Linked DNA regions of Homo sapiens: region 1 is linked to region 2. The links are contacts of gene promoters, found by promoter capture Hi-C in blood cells and fetal thymus (Javierre and others, 2016). All regions are on one chromosome and are shown on one strand. Each heading gives the region's core, a stretch centred on a gene start or on the middle of the fragment in contact. The rest is flanking DNA. Distances are from core to core; before and after follow the strand shown. Region 1 overlaps NKD1 (NKD inhibitor of Wnt signaling pathway 1). Region 2 holds the start of NKD1-AS1 (NKD1 antisense RNA 1).

Evidence for each region. The method cuts DNA at HindIII sites, captures the fragments that hold promoters and counts their contacts. A CHiCAGO score of 5 or more calls a contact.
Region 1: a contact is called between a fragment that was not itself captured here and the fragment with the promoter of NKD1-AS1 in region 2, in 7 of 17 cell types (non-activated CD4 T cells, total CD8 T cells, total CD4 T cells and 4 more). The highest score is 7.6, in non-activated CD4 T cells.

The regions. Positions count from the first base shown.
Region 1 is chr16:50,556,873-50,563,208 of GRCh38, reverse strand. The region is part of intron 3 of NKD1 (NKD inhibitor of Wnt signaling pathway 1); the gene reads right to left. Among named protein-coding and RNA genes, the nearest start is that of NKD1, 12 kb to the right of the region's middle. The HindIII fragment of the contact is 5,014 bases long and covers 682-5,695 here.
Region 2 is chr16:50,608,314-50,615,392 of GRCh38, reverse strand. It overlaps NKD1-AS1 (NKD1 antisense RNA 1), which reads left to right and starts at 1,743. Exons shown (of 3, transcript XR_007065197.1): 1 at 1,743-1,802; 2 at 6,943-7,079. It overlaps NKD1 (NKD inhibitor of Wnt signaling pathway 1), which reads right to left. Exons shown (of 10, transcript NM_033119.5): 4 at 7,033-7,079. RefSeq lists an enhancer at 4,524-5,489. The HindIII fragment of the contact is 2,641 bases long and covers 737-3,377 here.

The DNA of each region.
Region 1 (6,336 bases), core at 1,939-4,438, 54 kb after region 2:
ATGGGGCTATTTAAGTTCACATTTAAATTCATTCAAATAAAATATATCTTAAAATTTAGGCAGTCTCTGAGTCCCAGTGGTCACATTCTAAGCCACAGGTTCCCAGAGGGGACAATGCAGACACAGAACATTTCCATCATCAGAAAGTTCTACTGGTCAGCACAGTCTAGAGGTCACTTCTACAGCCCCTTCTTCTACCCATTCTACGGCGGGGGGGGGGGGTGGTGGTGGGACCTAGCAGCCCTTTCAAGAGAGGCAGGTGTCAGTGACTGCCAGGGTAGCTCTAAATCCGCTTGCAAGTTTAAGCAGCCACAGTTATGGGGATGTGGGAAGAGGAGAGAGAACCATGGAGCGAGAGCTTGTCATGAGTGAGGGCCTGCACTGGCTTCTCTGTAGGGTCGCTCATTAGGTCCCGCTACACTACAAATGGGGAGTGCCCTCCTCCCCCCTCATCCCTCTCCAACTCCTGCACCCTCCTCTCTCCTTTCCTTCAGGGTCCAGTCGGCCCAGCTGTTGCCTAGTACAGAAAGGTTCTGACTCAGGCTCAGGAAACCCCAAGGAGTCTACATTTTGAATAGCACCCAAGAGATTCAGATGTAGGTGGTCCTCGGCCGCATCGAGTCTCCCCAACTCCACACCCTCTGGCTGCTGTCTTCTCTCTCCACTCCTTCTGATAAAGCTTCTCCATACAGTTGCCTACACATGCTGTTTCCTCATCTGTCATTCACTTTTAAAATACATCACCTTTTTGAAAAATACAAAAAGTAGCACATGCTCATTTTTTGTAAAATCAAACAACCTAAAAATGTACAAAATGAAAAGCAAAATTCTCCATTCCTCAGGGAAATAGTCCTTGACAGTGTACCCTTCCAGATCTTTCTCTATGCACCTGCAGATACACAGTGACACAGGCCTGAATAGACTTTTTCACACTGTAAGAAACAGGACCATGGCCTATGAATGTTTTGCAGTTGCTTTGCTCATTCAGCAGCGTCTCAGGGTCTCTTTCCTGTCAGCAAGAGAGGCCCTTACTCGCTGGGCTTTGACCAGTTGCAGAGAGCTCAATGAGAAGTCCACACCACTGTTACCTTGTACCCTAGTGATGGATGTTTGAGTTGTCAAAAACTTTTCATTCTTCCAAATGCAGCCATGAATGTTCTTGTAAGTATGTGCTTCTGCTCCCCTGCACATATTTCTTAGTCCCTTCGTGAGCCACCCAAGTCTCACCTCTGCTGTCACTTCACCAAGACAGTTCCTGCCAGACCCAACTGTGACCGCCAGGATCCTAAACCCAAGGGACACGTCTCAGTCCTTTTCTATAACTCCACTCTCTCTGCAAGAGACCACCTACTCTCCGGTAGACTGTGTGGATGGCCCCCAGTGAATCCCACTTCCCAGTATTTATGCCCCTGTGTAGTTCCTTCCCCTAAATCTAGGCTGGACCTGTGACTTGCTTTAATGAAGAGAATGTGTTGTTGCTAATTCCAGGCCTAAACCTTAAAGAGTCCTGGCCGTTTTTGCTTCTATACTCTTGGGAAAGACAGCCACCATGTAAATCTGATTACCCTGAGACTGCCATACTGTGAGGAAGCCCAAGCTACTCATGAGGTGAGGCCAACTAGAAGAGAACTGAAGCCCCAGACATGTCACTTATTTGGAGCTGCTGCAGTCAGACCCTTGCTGTTAGAGCCACCCTAACTGTGCTACATGGAGCCACAGACAAGTTGACCCTCCCAGGCTTGGTCCAAAGTGCATACTCTTAAGCAAGTCACAAAGTGATCAAGTCACTAATCTTTGGACTTTTTTTTTTTTTTTACAGCAGTAGAAACAAAGCCTTCTCCTTTCCTTTAATGCATTTTTGAGAGGAGGAAGCAGAAGGCAGGAGAGGTCATAATAGATACCTCATAGCTAAGCTGGAGGCACCCCCAGGCTCAGGGTTCCCAGCGCAGCATTGTGTCCAACCCCTGATGACTGAGCCATGTCTGTGTTTCTCCTGGGATGAAGCTGCTGCTGTTGGCTTCTCAGGGGAGAAGCCATGGGCCCCCCCTCCATGGGACTGCTCATCCTCTTCATTCCCTAAGCAAAGGGAGTGAGCCAGCAGCAAGCACCCACAGCATCCCTGGGAGCACTGACCCAGGCCCAAAAGTCAACAAACCAAACAGCTCAGAAAGCACAGAGAGGTCAGGAAAGTTGCCCTAGGTCACACTGCTAGTGAGAAGTAGAGCCAGGGCTCAAAACCAGGCATTCAGGCTCAGGGCCTGCACCAGTGACCCACACCAGCGTTTTTCTAATACTCTGATTATGACCTATAGTAAGAATTATATTTTACAATATGCCTCTGCTGTAGATAGATAGATAGATAGATAGATAGATAGATAGATAGATGGGTTTGGGTATAGGTGTGTGTAAAGTGTGTGTATACATTTTTTTTAACTAGAACAAAAAATTACACAAAACAATATTTACTCTTACTATATATAATGTTTTCTCATATTTTTACTCTATTTCATTTTGGTCACTAAATTGATGTCATGAACCATGAATGGGGCTGAGACATACAGTTGAAAAAAAAAAAAAAACTCGCCTAAACTGATTTAAGATGGCTCTAAAATCACACTGAGTGATCTGAATTTGAATCTTGCTGAAGCAAGATTCCACTTCCAAGTTAAGTGACCTTGGGCAATATGGTTGACTTCTTTAAAGCCTCAGTTTCCCTATGGGTAAGATGGGCATAATAATAACAGCGGCCTCATAACAGTGCTCTGAGAATCCAGCACTATGAACAGTGCTTGGCCCAGAGCCTGGCACACAGCAGACACGCAGCAAGCAGCAGCTACGCTGTTACCACCTCCTCCTCGGGCTGCAGCTCCCAGACTCAGCACGGGGCTATGCACACAGTGGGCAGCTCGCGGGCACACTGAGCCTGCAGCCACTGAGAAAGCAGGCACGTGCCCAGGACCAGCTGAGGCAGTGGGTGCCTTTGGACTTTCCAGGGCAGGGAGGAAGCAGAGAAAGTCCCCAGTGCCCGCTGAAAAGGCAACTTTGTTCCTGGATTATAGTAGTTCTCTTCAATCATCTTTTTGCCTTTGAAGGGGGAAAGAAGGGTAAAACAACAAAGTCAGGGTCAAAAACTGTCCTGGAACAAGGCTCCCTCTGGAAACCAGGCATGGAATGGGCATGGCACCACACACCAGCACCCCCAAACCCACTCACTGGAGCCACCGCAAGCCGAGGCCTCTGAGTGAGGGGCCCACCAGCCCACGCAGCCTTCTGAAGTTAGAAAAACATCCTCCGGCCTGAGCCCATTAGGGAGGCTGTGGCCTGAGGGAAGACAGCCCCATCCTGCTAACAGGGTCCTTTTATGCTCTGCCTCTCCCCTCCTCAGGACCCCAGCTCTATGCTCAAGGCCAGAAGGCTTGGGCAGCCCAGCAGGCCAGCCAATCCGCTCCAGGGTGACACTATTTCTTGTGACTGAGAGGTTCTCCTCCCTACCTCTTCCAACCTGACCAGAAAGCTGGAGTCCACAGACACCAGTAACACTTCATGGAAGACTTGCGGCAAGGAGACAAGGCCTCATGACGGGATGCAACATACAGTGGTACCACCCAGCCCAGCAGGCACTGCCCACTCCCTGCTGCTGCACCACATAGTTCTGCTCTAACACCTCAGAGACTGGAATGTGGTTCCAAGTCAGACACCGAGAAGGAGGCTGAACACTTTCTCTGTGCACCAACCCTGCATGCCTCTTGCCCTTTGCACATCCCGTGCCTTCTGCCTGGAATATTTTTAATAAACCTTTCCCCACCTAGCTATTTCCTATTTATTCTTTGGGTCTTAACGACTTACGCATCACTCCCTAATCTGAAGTAGAATCCTCCGTTATTCTCCTTCCCCATCCTTTTCCTTCACTGCACTTAGCACACTGGTACCACACTGAGCACACATCCAGGTGATCACTAGCAAACAACACTGGCAAGCTGCAAAAGAAGGGGTGACATCTCCTTTATTCTTTAACTTGCTGAAATGAACCCATTTCTACCCTTAAAACAACCCAATGAGGTAGGAACCATTACTCTACCCATTCCACAGATGTGAAAACTGAGAATCAGAGATGAGCCATCACTTGGCCCAAGGCCACCGAGCTGGGGAGAAGTGCAGCTGGGACTCAGACCCAGGAAGTCTGATTCTGCAAGTTCTAAGCACACCTCTGGCACCTTCTATGGGCACATGCTGGTCTTCAGCATAAAGTCTCCCAGCCCACATCTTTGTTTTGTTGTTTGTTTGTTTGTTTGTTTGTTTGAGACAGAGTTTCACTCTTGTCACCCAGGCTGGAGTGCAATGGCACGATCTTGGCTCACTGCAACCTCCATCTCCCGGGTTCAAGGAATTCTCCTGCTTCAGCCTCCCAAGTAGCTGGGATTACAGGTGCCTGCCACCATGCCCGGCTATTTTTTTTTTCTTTCTTTTCTTTCTTTTTTTTTTTTTTTTTGTATTTTTAGCAGAGACGGGGTTTCGTCATGTTGGCCAGGCTGGTCTCAAACTCCTGACCTCAGGTGATCCACCAACCTCGGCCTCCACCAACCTCGGCCTCCCATCCCAGCCCACATCTTTACTTACCCTTCCTGTGCCTCCCACATTGCTCTCCCACCAGACTGAAATACACTGTGCACAGCTTCCTGGCAATGAGCCTTTGCTTGGCCTGCACTCTCTGCCTTGGATGCAGCCTGCATCCAGCTCTCCCTGGCTGGGCTAGTGACTCTAATTTGCTGGGCCTGCCTCCTCATCTATGCGATAGCGGAATAATACCTAAGGCAGTTGTGAGGATTCTACAAGAGAATGCATGGAAAGTATTAGGCACAATGTTGAGTCCATATGATACTCACTCGTGTGTCCTTTTATCACTAACATACTGCTTCTCTACCACCACCACCATCAGAATCTTAAAGGTCTAAATCAGCAAACACAAGCCAGTGTACTAACAGGCCAAATCCAGTCGTCTGAGTCACCCAAAGAAGGTGTTTTCTAAAAATTTTAATTGGTTAACAATAATTTTTTAAATTGGAAAAGTTTCACATAAAAATTCAGACAGCTGGATTTTCTTAATGATCAGCCCGTGTGGCAACACCAGGGCCATATTCCCACATGGCAGTGATTGGCTGGGGTTGAGTGGCACTGCCCCCTTGAGGCAGGGTGTGTGTTCCCCGGGGGCACCCCGGTTCCCACCCCTCTCAGATGTCTCCCACTGAGCCTGTGGCATTCATTCATATGACCTCTCTGGCCCCTGTAGGTCCTTAAGTTTCTAACCCCTGATCTCAGTCTTACCATTCTTCAAATCCCTACTCACATGCCCACTTCCTTCAAAAAAACCCTCCCCAACCTCCACAGCCCTGTGCTTCCCTTATGGTTTTATAACTTTAACAGTTAACTTGCACTGAGTACTTCATGCAAAGATCCAAAGTAAAATATTAGCCTATCAAATGCGGTCACATTTAAAAGAATAATCTATCATGACAAAGAATTTCGGAGGGCCAAGAAGGTTGCACTAGGAAATCCAGCAATGTAAATCAAGCATACAAATCACACACCACATTAGCAAAGAATGATGCATTCCATCTGCATCCCAACAGCATGTGACAAAATTCAATAATTATTCCTGATTTTACAAAGCTCAGAAAGCCAGGAGTTGAAGGAAGCTTTCTTAAACAAAAAGTATCATACTTGGTAGTTATTAAACAGAGTATGAGATTCTAACCAATGCAATGAGATTCTAACCAATGCAATAAGAGAAGAAAAATCGATGAAAGGCCATGGGGAGAGCTTAGTTCCACTCTCACAGAGGCAAGAACTATGTCCTAGTCCTCACAATTTCCACAACACCCTAAGCACAGCACGTGGGATAGATAAAGCAGTCAAATATTTGTGGAATGAAAAACACCCCAGATGAGTTCTGATCCCTGGTACATGTTCTCAAAACATCCAGTACTTTTTGGAGGCACATATCACAACTTAAATTGCACAACTTGTTTATGAAAATATTTCTGTTTTCCTACAAGATGGTAAGTTCCATGAAATCAAGGCCTTCACTCTAGGTACCAAGCACAGGTGTCCCTGGCCTAAAGCAGGTACTCAATGCCCACTCCAAGAGACATGAGGGCCTACTGGAGGGTGCAGGGTGGGAGGAGGCTGAAGATCTAAAACTACCTGTTGGGTACTGTGCTTATTACCTGGGGGATGAAATAACCTGCACACGAAACTCCCATGACACACAATTTACCTGTAGAACAAACCTGTACATGTACCTTGAACCTAAAATAAAAGTTAAAAAATATATATAAG
Region 2 (7,079 bases), core at 494-2,993:
AATCATCAGAATCTTCCATCAGCCCAATATCTATACCCTGAGATATATATGTCTATAGTGCAGTGTCTATCACACTATAGGTGCTGCATCATCAGCAGCATCATCAAAATGAAACAACGGTAAGTAGCAGAACCAGGATTTGAACCCAGAAGTTGTGGAACAAAGAGAACTAAATCCCAGTTTCCCAACTCCTCAACCACTGGCCTGTCCACTCTCTCAGACCACAATAGCTGACACCTGTTCCTGCCTGTCCAGCAATCCTTCTCCTCCTTCTGATGATAGCATCTGGCTTTCCTCCCCAGAGCTACTCATCCCCCACTCTCAGTCTATCTAGTTTATGGAGACTGATCCCACTCCAGGGTCACACTGCACTCAGTACCCCTACCTGACCCAGCTTGTTTCATCCTGAAGGCCACGTGGCTGGTCCTAGGTCAGTATGAAAGAAGAGTTTATGAAGAAGCTAATGAAGCTAGGCTTCTGGGCCCTCTCACCTACACGGGCCCTTTCCAAGTCAGGATGGGTCTTTGCAAGGTGTTTATGTGGTCATATGTGTTTGTATTTGTAACATTTTCCAAATTAGGCATTTTATCCTCAATCTATTAAGATTGTCATCTAACCATTCTGACATCCTTTGCCTGTGTGAGGTGATACTAGGGGAAATACAGGCATTTCTGGACATGAGCTAAGGAGAGACTGAGTTGGTGAGATATTTATTTTGGTTTGGCCCCAGAAAGCTTCAGGTCCCATAAAACCTAGATCTACCCTGGTCAAGTGACCAGTAAAGTGGTCAATAAAGTGAGTCCAACATGTGCAAGAACCCCTGTGACCTGGGAACTTTCTTCCACCTGACAGGGCTGTGCTCATAGGATGGGAGTGCCCAGAGCTGGGAACTGCCACCCTTGCCCCCTGTGGGGGAGAAGCCACCAGGGGACAGAGGGAGAGATGATGGAGAGGGAGAGAGAGGGGCAGCGAGCGAGACATGTGTGTGAATGTGTGAGTATACGTGTGTGTGTGAGTGTGTGTGTGTGCGTGCATGTGTCCATGACATGGTTTTAGCTCCAGAATCCAAACAGGCCTTTTTAGGCAAGATCTACCCTAGGATTTTTCAATTTCATGAGCCAAAAGTTTAAGTGAGTTTCCAAAAGAACCGAAAGAATCCTGACTTAACAAATCCGTCTCTCTGAGATCCTGCTTTTTAGGAAAAACCACCAGCACCAGCACCACAGCAGTAATTCACTCACCCAGGGCAGTCCCTCTAGGGTGATTTCCAGCTTTTTCACCTGTGGGTGTCTGCCCCTTCCTGAGACCAGAAATGCCACCAGGGACTTCTTCTCCACCATCCTGCCTCCCAGCTGCATTTTACTGCCACTAGATTTTGCTTATGGACCAATTGTAACTGAGGGGAAACAAAAAAGGGGGAAAAGCGGGTAGGGGAGGAAATCCTTCTCAACAAATAACATTCTGGCCTTTTTTTCCTCATCAGAGCATAAGGCTGGTGGCCACTCGGCTTTGACATCTGAACAGGATTGAGACGAAACATCTGTTCAGGGAGGGAGGGGGAAGCCCCGGGAGAGAAGGGGAAAGGGGAGAAAAAGCCTTCTGTGGGCTAAAAATATCACGTCCCTTCCACTCTCCCCCGCCCGCCCCCACCCAAGTTAAAACATGTGATGAAATTCGGCTTTTACAATCTAACCCCGAGCTACTTGAAACTATTAAAGCCTCTCCGGTATCTGACACAAGTCAGAATTTCCACTGTTCCAGCTGAGCTTTTATGAGGAGCAGACTTGAGAGAAACTGCCAAGGTAACAAAGTCCGCTTGTTCTCTGTCACCGCTGCAACTCAGCTTCTGGGGGGACTGTAGGGGAGTGGAGAGTCAGGGCCGCTGACACCCCCCGACAGGACAGGCTCTGAACTGAGGGAGAGGAGCCGGCGGGGCATGGGCACCTGCCCCTCCATCTGGGGGTCCCTGCTGCCTTCCCATGAACTCCTCTTCCTCCCAGCCTTCCTGGGAAGCCACCGCCAGCCCTGTGTATTGAGGAGCCTTGCCCGAGAGTCCCGGGCAATGTCCGTGGCTACTTCCTGAGAAGTCTTGACTCGCTCTCTCTCTCTGTTTCTTGCCCAACTGCTCCTTGAACCCCAAGCTCCAATCACCAGGTATCCCACGGCCTCCTCGGTACCTCTCCTTGGATGTTAAATGGGCATCTTGAACCCAACTGGTCCAAAAACGGGAGGCTTGATGGTCACCCGCCAAAACCTCCACCTCAGAAGTGACACCGCCAAATCCTTAGTTCCTGAAACCAAAAGTCTAAGATGCATCCCTGATCTCTCTCGTTCCCTCAACCCCCTTCTCACCAGCTCCAACCTCCAGCCCCATGGACCTCTCCCCAGCCCCAAGCTCCCAGGCTAGGCCAGCACCATCTCCTCTCGCCTGCGACCCTGCAGTCACCTCCTGGTTTCATTGCCCTCTTCCTCCCTGCCCATGGGCAGTCCCTCCCAGAAGCCAGAATTAACTTCTTAAAACAGAGGTCAGAATCCAGCAGTCACCCACCCAACCATCTGGGCAGAACCACGCAACCTAAGGGCGTGGTCCCACACTTGCCGACCACCCCACTCTCATTCCTGATGCCACATCGGCCTCCTTTTTGTTCTTCCCCAAACACCAAGTTCCCTCCACTCTGGGGTTCTGCTCACTCATAGCTGCTCTCCCCCTACATTCTTCCATGGCTGGCTCCTTCCTGGCATCTGCATCTCAGCTGAAACATCACCTTCTCAGAAAAGCCTCCTCACTCTACCTCTCCCTGGGTTTTACGTCTTAGCAGAGAACCACTACTAGAAACTTCCATGCTCCTTCGCAGATTTATGTATTCATCCCTGCCTCCCTCCTGTGAATGTCGTGACTGCTGGGCCTGCCTACCTTGCTCGTGCCTGTGAACCCAGGGCCCAGCAGAGCCCCTAGCTGCAGCAAATGCCCAGCACATACTGAATGGTGAGGAGTGAGGGGCCAGATTCTGTTCTCAGTCTGCTGTGTGACCCTGGACAGGTCACTTCCCTCTCTGGGCTTCAGTTTTCCAACTACAGATGAAAGGAAGTACAGGCCTCCCAAGTTCCTTTGCCCAACATCTGACCCCTGGGAGCCTGGACAGACTGGCCCAGGCCCCAACACAGGTACACAGGTCCTGCCTGAGAGGCCGGAGGGAGGGGTCACCTGCTTTCAGTGAGGCAGAGGGAGAGGTCACCTGCTTTCAGTGACTACAGGGTATTGACTTTCCTTCTTCAGTGAGTGTTTATTTATTGAGCACATACAGCATGCCAGACCCTACTCCAGGCACCAGGAGTACGGGGAGGCCTTTGGAGATTCTAACAGGATTAAAGAAGCTTTGCAAAGAGGTCCTCTTTGATCTGGGCTAGGTAAATGATTATAAACACGGGCTGACACCTCTTCAAGAAAACTGAACCCAGGAAACAAGAATCATGGCAGCTCAAGTGTGCTGGGCACTTACTCTGTACCAGGGCCACCCTTGCGACCTACATCCATCACCTCATTGTCTTCACAATAACCCTGGCAAAGAAGTGCTACAAGGAACCCAGTGAGGAAGTTGAGCCACAGGGAAGTGACTCACCCAAGGTCACACAGTGAGTGTGGGTAAGCCAGGCTGGAATGGGGTCTGAGCTGCGAATTCACAGGAAGTCAGAATCAAGGGAGGAGAGATGAGGAAGGCAAAGTTAGGGACCATTGCAGAGCTGAACAGGCCCCGAGCTCCCCGAGTGCTGCTCAGCCCCCACCAGGCCTCAGTCTTAACACTGCTCCCTGCTGGGCAGAACCACCAACTCCAGGCACATCCACCCTTGGGCTGAGGAAGCAGAGACCACCCCACGGGCTGCCACATGCGCACGCCAGGCCAGTGGGGAGAGGGCAGCAGGGCCAAAGCAAGGCCTGCCCTGGAAGCTGGGAGGCCTGGGCCTGGTCCCGAGGAGGAGGGGCTGCCTGACTTCAGTGGCTCTGAGCATCTCCTTTAGGGAAGCTGCAGAGCAGCCTTCCTAAAGATGCCGGAGAGTGGAGAAATAGAAACCAGGCACTTGAGGATGCGGAGAGACAACGAGCAAAGGCCCAGAGATGAGACACAGAGATAGCCAAGAAGCTGGGCGGGGGCAGCGTTCACCAGGTGAGAGGCAGGGGGGACCTGGAGAGAGGGAGATGGGAGAGGGGGATGAAGCAGTGGCTGCAGCACCCTCAGACACAGTGACTCCTGGAGGCCATGCAGGGGAACGTGGCCTGGCCACCCATTCTCCCCGTGGGGCCCAAGCCGCAGGCTGCGACTACCTGGAGTCCTGCCCAGCTGTGGGGGCAGGGAGGCTGGGTGTGCGCTGAAGGTGAGCATGGGGTCACCCCTCCCTGGTCCTCAGACCTCAGCTGGGTCAGCTGAGGAGGGGTCCCTCTCCCCTTCTCCCCACGAAAGCCTCACCTCACCAGCCCTGCCACGCCCAGCCAGCTCTCAGAGCTTGAGACTTTTGATGTTTACTTTGTTCTTTCCCCAGTTCAAAAGGAGCTCTGCAGCCCTGGCCCACCAAGCCCAGCCTTAATCTCCCATCCCTCCCGCTCCCAGCTGGCCAGTTAAGGCGGTTAAGATGCTGGATTAGGGCCGGCTTTACATAACAACGCGGGAGCTAAAGCCATCCTCTCCTGGGATGGCTAAAAGACTTCTTTTTATCTTCACGCCTCAGATGGCCTTTTTTCTCTCTTAAACAGCTCTCCAGCCCGCCAAGAGGCAATGAACTTGGCCAACAGGAAGACAAAGAAGAGATTCAGGACTCGGCTTGTTCTCCCTTAGTCAGTAGCACAGAGGGACCCCTCAGTCCCAGGTCCAGAGCAGGCAGCTGGTTTTCTGTGGCCAGAACTCAGTAGCACCTGCTCTCACCAGACCTGGCCACGCGGTGGCCTACCATCCACACCATATCCCCCACCCTGGGGTGGGAGGCCTCGGGCCACAGGACCAAGGGTGCCAGAGGACCACAGATGGTCACTGGGCCCAGGGTCCCTCATGGGGTCTTAAGGGCCACACGGACAGGTCCAGATGCCCACCCGACTCAAACCAGAGCAGCTCCACTCCTACTGCCTTATTTACGGTTTTCACCTTTAAATACTGACATTAGTTTTTAATTTCATAAGGAATACATAATTGTGGTTTTTTGATTTTTTAAAAAATATAGTTTTTGAATTATTGATAATAGAGACAGGGTCTCACTATGTTGCCCAGGCTGGTCTTGAACTCATGAGCTCAAGCGATCCTCCAGCCTCAGCTTCCCAAAGTGCTGAGATTATAGGTTTGAGCCACCATGCCCAACTATGTTCTTATAAAAGTTTAACCATGAAATGCAGATAACACAGACTTAAGTCTCCTCCCATGTTTGGAAAGAGCTATGGTTATCATCTGTCTAGGCCTCTATCCACACAGTCATATGCATATGTGGTACCCTAAGAAACTCCTGAGGATGGTCTGGTGCCTTTTTTTCACATAAAAGATACCAGACTGTATGCACACACAAAGCTTTCTGTTCATGGGACTCCTCCCCCTTGATCTGGGGCCTGCTTACATTTGAGTAAAGTTTGCTAGATACCTGGCTCTCCAGCCTGCCTCCAACTTCTAGGCAACGGAGTGAGTATCTTCAAACAGTGCTTCTCTGAGTGCAGTGTTCATGCAAGCCACCTGGGGAGCTTGTTAAAATGCAGATCGGATTCAGCAGGCCTGGGCTGGAGCTGAGATTCTATATTTATAACAGCTCTCAGGCCAGATGTGGCCACGGTCCTCAGGTCTGGCCGATGCTCCCCTTGAGAACTTCCCAGAACTGTCTGCTCTCCTCTTGTGGCCCTTCAGACCCCTGCAGGGCTAGATCCCCCTCCGCAGACCCTTGCACCATGGCCCCCCAGCTCTCCAGCCAGCTGTCTGCCCTGGTCTCAGCAGAGAGGTCCTTCCTTACTCTTATAAGGCAGCCCCCCATTTGGTGATTTCTTTCCCTGTTTCTGAATTTAAAATCTCCCATTCAGGAAACACTCTGCTTCACGCTGTCATCCGTTCCTGGCACCAACTCTGGGAGCCAAGCAGGGCAAAGGCCCTTGTTCCCATTCTATAGATGTGGAAGCTGAGGCTCAGAAAGGTAGGGTGGCCTGCCCAAAGTCAAACCAGCACACCAGCAGCCAGCAGACCCTCTACGCTTAAGCGTCCTGATTCTCTCTACAACACGGCACTTCACCATGAAGAAAGCAAGCAGTGGCCAGGTGCAGTGGCTCACGCCTGTAACCCCAGCACTTTGGGAGGCCAAGGTGGGAAGGTCACTCGAGGCCAGAAGTTCAAGACCAGTCTGGACAACATAGTAAGACCCCATCTCTACAGAAAAATTTAAAAATTAGCTTGGCATGGTGGCATGCAACTGTAGTCCTAGCTACTTGAGAGGCTGAGGTGAGAGGATCACTTGAGCCCAGGTCGAGGCTGCAGTGAGCTACAATTACCTACTGCACTCCAGCCTGGGTGACAGAGCAAGACCCCATCTTAAGAAAGGAAGAAGGACAACAGAGGAGAGAGGTGAAAGGCTGGCTGTGTGTGTGTGTGCACACTCATGCACCAAGAGAGTGACATGATGGAGGAAACAGAATAGGCACTGTGTGTAATGCTTACTCCATGCCCAACACTGCCTGATCACACTTCACACATCACTCTGAGCAGCTACTCTTATTATCCCCAGAGGAGCAGCAGAGTTTCAACAACCTGTCCGAGATCCCCCAGCTAATCCGGTGCAGGGCCAGGACATGGACCTAGGTGACCGGACCCCCACCTGGGCTTGGACCTATGAAGTACCACACCTGTCTCTTACTCCTCTCCTCCATCCCACCCTCTAGTCCACCCCCACCCAGAGTCACAAGGTCCCTGTTGTGCCCTCCATCTGCAGATTTTCTGGAGTACACAGGGCACACGGCCAGCTGAACACCCGCTTCCCCCACTCGCTGCTGCTGGGAAGAGAGCAATGGACTCCGAATACCTTCCAGCCGAAAGTCGTCCTCCTCTTCCTCGCTGAGCGTGTCTCTC